Regions from separate parts of the Homo sapiens genome. Here region 1 is linked to region 2. The links are contacts of gene promoters, found by promoter capture Hi-C in human tissues and cell types (Jung and others, 2019). All regions are on one chromosome and are shown on one strand. The core of a region is centred on a gene start or on the middle of the fragment in contact, and the rest is flanking DNA. Distances in the headings are between cores, read along the strand shown. Region 1 overlaps LRRC8A (leucine rich repeat containing 8 VRAC subunit A). Region 2 holds the start of GOLGA2 (golgin A2).

What was found. The method cuts DNA at HindIII sites, captures the fragments that hold promoters and counts their contacts. A contact is called where the count stands out against the background at its distance.
Region 1: a fragment that was not itself captured here is called in contact with the fragment with the promoter of GOLGA2 in region 2 in 1 of the 25 tissues and cell types used here (dorsolateral prefrontal cortex).

The regions. Positions count from the first base shown.
Region 1 is chr9:128,891,158-128,896,120 of GRCh38, forward strand. All of the region lies in intron 2 of LRRC8A (leucine rich repeat containing 8 VRAC subunit A), which reads left to right. Among named protein-coding and RNA genes, the nearest start is that of LRRC8A, 12 kb to the left of the region's middle. RefSeq lists an enhancer at 1,087-1,694. The HindIII fragment of the contact is 8,143 bases long and covers 1-4,963 here.
Region 2 is chr9:128,274,144-128,278,901 of GRCh38, forward strand. It overlaps GOLGA2 (golgin A2), which reads right to left and starts at 1,864. Exons shown (of 27, transcript NM_001366244.2): 1 at 1,750-1,864. The coding sequence starts at 1,833. SWI5 (SWI5 homologous recombination repair protein) reads left to right here and starts at 2,133. Exons shown (of 5, transcript NM_001318089.2): 1 at 2,133-2,259; 2 at 2,564-2,612. The coding sequence starts at 2,198. RefSeq lists enhancers at 1,328-1,377, 2,238-2,367 and a silencer at 1,528-1,637. The HindIII fragment of the contact is 26,420 bases long and covers 77-4,758 here.

The sequences.
Region 1 (4,963 bases), core at 2,292-4,791, 620 kb after region 2:
GCTACTTGGGAGGCTGAGGCAGGAGAATCACTTGAACCCGGGAGGCGAAGGTTGCAGTGAGCCGAGATTGTGCCACTGCACTTTAGCCTGGTGACAGAGTGAGATCCCGTCTAAAAAAAAAAATTAGCCAGGTGTGGTGGCATGTGCATGTAGTTCCAGCTACTTAGAGGTTGAGACTGGAGGACTGCTTGAACCCAGGAGTTCCAGACCAGCCTGGGCAACATAACAACCTATCTCTACAAAAAATTTTTAAAAATAGCCAGGTGTGGTGGCACATGCCTGTAGTTTCAGCTACTCGGAGGCTGAGGCTGGAGGATCGCTTGAGCCAAGGAGTTCAAAGTTGCAGTGAGTCATGATCGCACCATTGTGCTCCAGCCTCGGCGACAGCGCAAGATCCTGTCTCAAAAAAAATAAAACGGCCTGCCTTCTAGGCCCTTCTGCCCCCAGGGCCCAGACCCAACACTGCCTTCTGGCCCTAAACCCAGGGCTAGGCTCCCTTCCAGAGCTTCCTTATAGCAGTACCCGTGAGACCAGAGGCATCTGAGTATGGCCTGATGGGGTTCCCTGTAGAGCCCTGGTTTCCATGTACCCCCTAAGGAAAAGAGTATCTTGTCTCAAGAAGTATCTTCAAGGGCCTGGGTCCCAGGTGGGTCCGGGAGGCCTGCTTGTCTTTGAGGCAGGTTGGCACAATGGAAAGTCGGGCTTGGGGTGCATCTTCCCAGCTCTTCCTAGCTGTGTGGCCTTGGGCAGGTTACCAAACTTCTCTGGGCCTCCGACATCACACCCATAAAAGGACTGATTTAAACTCTACCATAATAATAACAGCAGTGAACGTTCCAGAGCCTTACTGTATGGCAGGCACTAGTCCAAAAGCTTTATATGGACTGTCTCCTTCTGTCCTCATCACAGCCCTCCAAGCAATAGACTTGTCAACCCATTTTACAGATGAGGAAACCAGAGCCCAGCGAGGTGAAGGGACTTTCTCACGGTCTCGTGGTGAGGTGGGTGCCACCTTGCTGCTATGCATGAAGGTTGGGAGATGGGGCAAGGACATACTGGGCACTTAGTTGACGGTCAGTAACTGGGCGCTCCTGCCCCAGCCTGGCAGGGCGAGGGCAGGTCCTGAGGCTGCACCTCCAGCCCCACCTGCTGCCTCTCTCTGCTTGGCTCCGGAGCTGCTGGGGGAAGCCCAGGTGGGTGTCCCTCACCTGTTGCCTTTCACCCTAGAAGGCGGGCCACGCCCTTGCAAGTTGGTGTGAGGATGAACCTGTTTGGGAGCCCAGCCCAGGTGAGAGCAGTTTGGAACTGACCCGTGCTCCCCTCCCCCTCCAGCCCTGGCGTCTCCCCTCTTCCTCTCCCCAGGAAGTGAGGGTGTACCCTTCTACACAGGGCGAGTCCCAAGCCAGGCAACACCCCCAGCCAGCAGCCTCTGACTCACCCCAGCTGGGTGTGGGGGCCTCCAGGGCAGTGTCCGCCCTGGGGAGGGTGGAGGCTGTGTGTGCCAGACGAGGCTGAGACCTCTCCTCCCACTCTGGCTCTGGGACAGGGGAAGCACATGACCCATGGCCCGTGGTGGGAGCAGATCCACAGGCTTGGAACCCTCCCGGGACAGGGCCTGTTGAGAGCGGCCCCTTCGCGCTCCCTGGGAGAGCACTGGAGGGCCAGCCTTCCCATCTCTGGTACAGGAGGGGTGCCAACCTCCCGCCTCCCCTCCTGCTTGGGAAGTTTTCCTGGCTCAGCCTTGTTTGTGCTTTCACAAAAGGCTCTCTGTGCCCTGTTTACCCGCAGCCCGACTGCCTGCCGCCCAGGTGTGGGAGCCACGCCAAATCCCTGTGGGCCCACATGGGGTCTGGTGCGTGCTGGGGGGGTCTCTCTCTGGGACAGAGTGGGCAGCTTGTCATTTCTTGACTCCCTGTCTTCGAGAAGCATCCAGGGGATGTGGACTGGGGCTGAACCTAATGACTGGCTCTGAGAGCAGATGGCCAACTCTGCCACACGGGGTCCTGAGCCTGGGAGGGTCTCTGAGTGGTCTGCGAGTTTTCGAGGTTCTGCGAGTCCTGGGGGGTCCTGTGGGTCTCTGAGTGGTCTGGCCCTGCTCAGAGACATGGTGCTTGAGGCTCCGCCCTCACCCAGGTCAGTCCCCACTGAATTCTGGGAGGGTCATCTGCGATGGCAGGTGGGACCGTGGAACGACAGCCTGAGTGTGCCCGGTGCTGTATTGACACATGATGCCTTACTTTTAATTCTCACGATAACCCATTTCACAGCTATAACCCATTTTAGGATGTAATATTTCCATCTTGCAGTTGAGGACACAGAGGCTCTGAGGCCCCAGTGAGGCAGTAGTGGGGTTGGCGTTTGAGTTGCCCAACTCTGGGGTCTGAACTCCTCCCTGCTCTGCTCCCAGGAGGTGAGGACCGCAAGCTGCTGAGCGTGAGTGTTACGAGGCAGGGCAGGGAGGATGAGGCTGACCTGTTTCTAATGTACGGATGGCAGCTACGCATAAATTCTTTTATCATCCTGAGAAACCACACAGTGAGGAAGGTCTTTTGATTTATTTCCAAGCAGTTTTTCTACTCATAAACATACCAGATTTAAATAATGGAAGAATGTATAATATAGACAGCCCTCTACAGTCTCACCACGAGTAGACTTAACTATATATAGTTCTGTGCATAGCTTTCTAAATTCTTTTCTGTACACAGTAATGAGTTTGTTATTGATATAATTTTATTTTTTGAGACAGAGTCTCACTCTGTCACCCAGGCAGGAGTACAGCAGCACAGATTCGGCCCACTGCAACCTGCGCCTCCCGGGTTCAAGTGATTCTCCTGCCTCAGCCTGCTGAGTAGCTGGGACTACAGTTGTGTGCTACCACGCCCAGCTAATTTTTTTGTATTTTTAGTAGAGACGGGGTTTCGCCATGTTGGCCAGGCTGGTCTCAAACTCCTGACCTCAAGTAATCCACCCACCTCGGCCTCCCAAAGTGCTAGGATTACAGGCGTGAGCCACCGTGCCCAGCCATCATTCTTGTTTTAAAAAATTGCCAGGCATGGTGGCTCACACCTGTAATCCCAGCACTTTGGGAGGCTGAGGCAGGCAGATCACAAGGTCAGTAGATCGAGATCATCCTGGTTAACACGATGAAACCCCGTCTGTACTAAAAATACAAAAAAATTTGCCGGGCATTGTGGTGGGTGCCTATAGTCCCAGCTACTTGGGAGGCTGAGGCAGGAGAATGGCGTGAACCTGGGAGGCAGAGCTTGCAGTGAGCAGAGATCATGCCACTGCACTCCAGCCTGGGCAACAGAGTGAGACTCCATCTCAAAAAAAAAAAAATTATACCAGTAACAGACCAGGTACAGTGGCTGACACCTGTAATCCCAGCACTTTGGGACACCAAGGCAGGTGAATCACTTGAGGTCAGGAGTTTGAGACCACCCTGGCCAACATGGCAAAACCCCATCTCTAGTAAAAATACAAAAATTAGCCAGGAGTGGTGGCACACACCTGTAGTCCCAGCTACTTGGGAGGCTGAGGCAGGAGAATCGCTTGAACCCAGGAGGTAGAGTTTGCAGTGAGCCAAGACCACACCACTGTACTCCAGCCTTGGCAACAGAGTGAGACTCTACCTCAAAAAAAAAAAAAAAAAGATATCATATTTCCTAATTTTTTTCATTGTGGTAAAATACACATGACATAAAATTTACCACCTTAACCATTTGTAAGTGTACACTTCAATGGTATTAAGTACATTCATATTGTGTATCCATCACTACCACCCATCTCCAGAACTGTTTTCATCTTGCAAAACTGAAACTCTCTGCACCCATTAAACGCTCACTCCCCATTTCCTGCTCCCCCAGGCCCTGGTATCCCTTCTGTTTTCTGTCTATTCACTTATGTGAATAAGTGAAATCAAAGTATTTGCCTTTTATGACTGGCTTCTTTCGCAGATAACACATTTTATATACTGCTCAGCAAAATTCTTTTATGCTTAATATCTCTTAGATGTCTCTGGGGTCACTGCATACACATCTACAAGGAAGGTGGCGTTATTCCTGATTTAAAGTTGTAGAAGCTCGGGAGGCTGAGGTAGGAGAATCACTTGAACCCGGGAGGTGGAGGTTGCAGTGAGCCAAGACCGTGCCACTGCACTCCAGCCTGGGCCACGGAGCAAAGCAAGACTGTCTCCAAGATAAAATAAAATAAGTTGTAAAAGCAGAGGCTTAGGCTAAACAATTTGCCTGGGGTCACAGAATTATTTCTTGCTGGAGCTGGATTTGAACCTACATGTCCCAAACTCCAAGTCCTTGCTCTCTCTGCTCCCTGAGATCCACCTGTGCCTGAGGGAAGGCTGGGGCTCTCTGGGTTACTCATTTAACCCCCAGGCACAGAGATGCCCTGGCCCTGGCCAGGAACCTGGTCCCATTTGTCCTAGGCACCTGCTTGAGCTGCCTTGTGGGAAGGGCCTGTTCTGCATGATGCCCACTTCTACATCTCCCTGGGGGCAGGGCAGGACCAGGTAGGGAGTGCTTACGAGTTCTGCAGGGTCCTCAGGGGCTGAGGAGCAGCAGCTGGTAGGAGGAGCTGCCTCTGCTGCTCCGGTAACCTGGTAAGATGCAGTAGCTGCTGCTCCCCGCTGAGCCTTCGCCTGTGGGAGGTTGGGGAGAGCACTGGCTATGCAGGGTAGGAATGCATGAGTGTTTCAGTGAGTTTTGTGTGATGAAATGGTTTAAGAAAAGTATAAAAACTAGAACAGATACATCCATATCAAGAACTCAGCTTTGTCAGACTTCAGTGTTTTGCAGTAATTGTTTCAGATACACACATGCACGCACGCACACACTTGAATGTGCGCAGGCACTTAAGTAAAATATTCCAAGCACAGTTGAAGTCCCTTCCCCATTTTCTTCCCTCCCTAGATACAATCATTATCTTGGTTTGGAGACTTTCCATGCAT
Region 2 (4,758 bases), core at 614-3,113:
TTAAAAAAGGCAAGAATTGAACTTAAACTCAGTCTTCTGACTCCAAGCTCTGGGGTTTTGCCACAAATCAGCAGCTGCCAGGGGCCAAAACCAGAGGCAGAGGTACTTTTCCACCTCTCATCCCAGAAACGGGATGAGAACACTTAGGGATTGGGTCCTAAGATCAAAAGCTGGTTTCACGCACTAATTACGGTTCCGAGGGGGACTGCGACATCACTACATTCCACTCCACCAAGGAGAATTCAAATATGAGGTGGAGAAGTCAAGCCTGGAGTCCCAGCTACCTGGGAGGCTAAGGCAGGAGGATTACTTAAGGCCAGGAGTTCAAGGTCAGACTGGGCAACACAGTGACACCCCCTCTCTAAAAATAAATATGTATCTTAAAATGTGGGCCGGAACATTAAGTCGGCAGGAACTGTACACTGTGTGGTTTAGAGTCATACATCCTCACACGTTTGGTAATGTTAAGAAATGCACCAATGCCTCTCAAACTTTTACATCAATGTATCCACATGGCAGAAGGCAGCCTTTCTGTTGAACCTGGGAATTTAACAGAAAGAGGACAACCCAAGCCTCATTTCAGAGAAAAGTCTGGTATACTCTTAGAAATTTATGTGACTGTCATCCCTAAGTACATTAATGTTTTTTCTCTCTCAAGAGAATAAAGGGAGACTGATGCTTCAGAAAGATGCCCCGTATTTATCCTGTGGCACTCCAAGTACCCCAGGTTGAGATGATATGAGGAAGATTCAAGCTGTCAAGTTCAGTTTCCCAAGACCTGTTCCACAGAAGATAAGCAGATCTCATTCCAGAGACCACTGAAGGGCACTCTGGTCCCAGAACCATGGAGAATTCGAATATGAGGTGGAGAAGTCAGAAAAAAATGTTAAAGTCTCTCTGGAGAGTAGAAGCCTGGGGGAAAACCAAACCAATCCCGTTCTCACATTGCCACCCAGAGATACTGCCAATGTTTTCAGTTCACGGGTGAAGTGTAGGCTTTTCACACTGTCAATGTCTATGTTAAGGGTGTAAGGCAGCCTGAAACCTCTCCCTCCTAGGTCCCATAGTCCCCAATCCCCTTCCAGCTGGAAATTTATGCTGTGACCAGAGGAACCAGAAGCGGGATGAGAACACTTAGGGGACTGGGTCCTAAGATCAAAGACTGGTCTCGCGCAACTAATTACGGTTCCGAGGGGGATTGTGACGTCACTACATTCCACTCCTAGGGGGAACATCAGCGCGACGTCCAAGTCGCCGCTCCGCGATGGGGGAGGGGACCGCAGGGCCAGGACCCAGGTCCTTGGAGACCCGAGACCAAAGAACCCCGGGAGGTCCGGTTTGGGGCGGCAGGAGGTGAGGGTCGAGTCTGGAGCGGGGGGCCCCGGGAGTCACGGGCCCAAAGTCACTGGCGAGGGCAGGGGCTGAATTGCTGGGGTCCTAGGTCCTTGGAGACGCCAGCCCAAAGAGCCCAGGGAGGTCGGACTTCGGGGGGCAGGAGGTGAGGGCCGAGTCTGGAGCGGGGAGCCCCGGGAGCACCAGCCCAAAGTCACCCGGGGGCGACTGGCGAGGGCGGGGGCTGGGCGGCTGAGGGGGCGGGGCTGGCTGACAAGACTTTGGTGGAGGGAGCCCGGACGCGCCGTGGGGAGCCCAGCCCGGTGTGCCTCAGGAGTGGCAGAGACTCTGGCCATGGTCCTGCCATCGGAGTGGGGCTGGGGCTGGGTCGGGGGGCCGCGACCCGGTGCACTTTACCTTTTTCTTCGCTGCGGCCAATTTGCTCTGTCGGGTTTCTTCCGACATCGCGGGGCGGGGAGGGAGGCGGGGTTGGGGCCACATCAGCGCGATCCCGGCAACCACTGCGGAAGTCAGTCAGCCACCGCGCAGCTGTGCGACGGAGCCAGAGGAGGCGTAACCAGGGCGATACTGGAGCGCAGAATGGGGGCGTGGCCTCAAAGATCAAAGCCCATTGGTCAATGAGAAATATGAAGCGGAAGGGGGCGTGGCTATGCAGCGGCGTGGCCAGAGGGACCTGTGGCGTCACAACAAAAGCTGCGCACGCAACCGCTGTCCCCGCCCACCTCGGGAGAGGGGCGGGGCCGGCTTTCCTTGGGTGCGCGCGCAGCTTTCTGTGCGCCAGTTCACACTCCGGGTCAGAGTTCCTGGCCCGGTGCACCTGAGAGGTCGCTCTCCGACTCCCGCGCTGGACCCTCTTGCGCCATTGAACCCCCTGATCCGGGGGCCTCGGACCCCAGGGCTCAGGAGGTGGGCGAGGAACGGACTCCACAGTTTCTTTCCTGACTCCTCACAGCCCTGCCCCAGACTCTCCCTTCCCAGAAATCACCTCCAAAGACTCCCATCCAGTGCTCCAGACAACCCCCGTCTCAGAACGCCCCCTTCCTAGAGGGTCTCTACCCTGATCCTGAGAGCGTGTCTGCCCCCTTTCCAGATGGATCCAGTCCCTGGCGCTCCTACTTCCCAACTGCTCCTCCTCCCGCATCCCCACAGTACCCCGTCCTCACAGCGGGCTGTGGGTCCAATCAGACTTTCCCCTCGGATTCCTCTCTAGGACTGAACCAAGACTTACCCGAAGTTGCCGCGGGGCCTTCCGATCCCCTGTGAGTATTTCTTCCCCCACACCCCCTTTCCCATCCTCGACCTTCCCTTGTGCGCTCCCGGCCCCACTCCCCATCCCAACAGCAGCCAATCCCCGCTTGGCCCTCTTCCATATCTTCTCCCAGTCGACTGAGAACCGCCAGGTCATTCCCGAATCCCTCCCCTTCCTTTCCTCATGCCCGCCAGTCTTCAAAGAAGTGTTATCCTGTCCTGTCCTAGGCTAACTCCTCTCCCTCCCCATCCTGTCTCCTGGCTCCTCAGATGCCTTTCACTCCAGTCCAGCACCAGCCATCTCTCCTCCTCGCTCTTTTCACCCCTCACCCAGCCCTGCCTTTAAACAAACCCATAGCTCCCCAGTCAGGAAAATGCTTGGCGTTCACCCTGGCCACTCCTTTCGTTGCTAATAGTCTCTCCTCTTCGCTGGCAAGCCACCCCCAAAACGCAGCCTACTCCTTCTCTCATCCCCCAGATGGAGTTGCCACTACAACTACCACCACTCTTAAGGTAGATCGTGAGGGCCGGGTGCAGTGGCTCACACCTGTAATCCCAGCACTTTGGGAGGCTGAGGCGGGCAGATCATTTGAGGTCAGGAGTTCAAGACCAGCCTGCCCAACATGATGAAACCCTGTCTCTACTAAAAATACAAAAAAATCAGCCGAGCGTGGTGGTGCAGGCCTGTAATCCCAACTACTCAGGAGGCTGAGGCAGGAGAATTGCTTGAACCCGGAAGGTGGAGGTTGCAGTAAGCCGAGATTGCACCACTGCACTCCAGCCTGGACAACAGAGCTAGACAAGTCTCAAAAACAAAAAAGAAGTTAGATCGGGAAAGACTTGGTATTTGTTCATTGATTTAGCAACTGCTGCAATGCAGGTGTATGCCAGATAGCCCCCTGCCCTCCAGGAGCCACAGGCAAAAAAATAATTCCAGGACAAGTATGCACATGGTTCTGAGATGGGGAGCCCAGGCTTGGGCTTGCAAAGAGGGCTCTCCAGAGATGGCAGGGTCAGAGGCAGGGCCTGAAGGGCAACTCACAGTGAGCTCAGATGACGATGACGGGGTGGCAGCCATAGTTTGCCAAAAGCACTGGGCTGATTGAGCTTCTCTCTGCAAGTGGGTTGGTATCCACTGTCTTTGACCATGCGGTAACTCACTGCAGATCATGCCTTTCTCATTCATGCTAATTCATTCCTTCTCTTTTTTTTTTTTTTTTTTTTTTGAGACACAGTCGCACTCTGTCGCCCGGGCTGGAGTGCAATGGTGCGATCTGGGCTCACTGTAACCTCTGCCTCCCAGGCCCAACCCATCCTCTTGCCTCAGCGTCCCAAATAGCTGGAACCACAGTTGTGTGCCATGACGCCTGGCTAATTTTTTTGTATTTTCAGTAGAGACAAATTTTCGCCATGTTGCCCAGGCTGGTCTCAAACTCGTGAGCTCAAAGCAACCTGCCCGCCTCGGCCTCCCAAAGTGCTGGGATTACAGGCATGAGCCACCATGCCCAGCTTCCATTCCTTCCATTTTTAAAAACAACGCTCGACCCGGCACAGTGACTCACGCCTATAATCCCAGCACTTTGGGAGGCTAAGGTGAGTGGATCACCTGAGGTCAGGAGTTTGACCAGTCTGCCCAACATGGTGAAGCCCCATCTCTACTAAAAATACAAAAATTAGCTGAGCATAGTGGTACATGCCTGTAATCCCAGCTACTTGGGAGACTGAGGCAGGAGAATCGCTTGAACCCAGGGGGTGGAGGTTGCAGTGAGCCGAGATCACCCTGCACTCCAGCCTGGGCAACAGAGCGAAACTCCATCTCAAAAAAAAAAAAAAGGAGGCTCTATTGAGCATTGTCCCATCAGCTTACTTTACATGCATCATCTTTCCAGTTCCTTCCAGCAACCTTTGAGAAGACGCTTTACTGTCCCCATGTTGAGGTGAGGCCTGTGAGTTCCAGAGAGATGAATATAGCCAGGACGTGGCAGAGCTGGGGGCTTTAAACTGAGAAACTGAGTTGTTTTTGGTTTTTTTTGTTTTTTTTTATTTGAGACGGAATCTTGCTCTGTCGCCCAGGCTGGAATGCAATGACACGATCTTGGCTCACTGCAACCTCTGCCTCCCAGGTTCAAGTGATTCTCCAGCCTCAGCCTCCCTAGT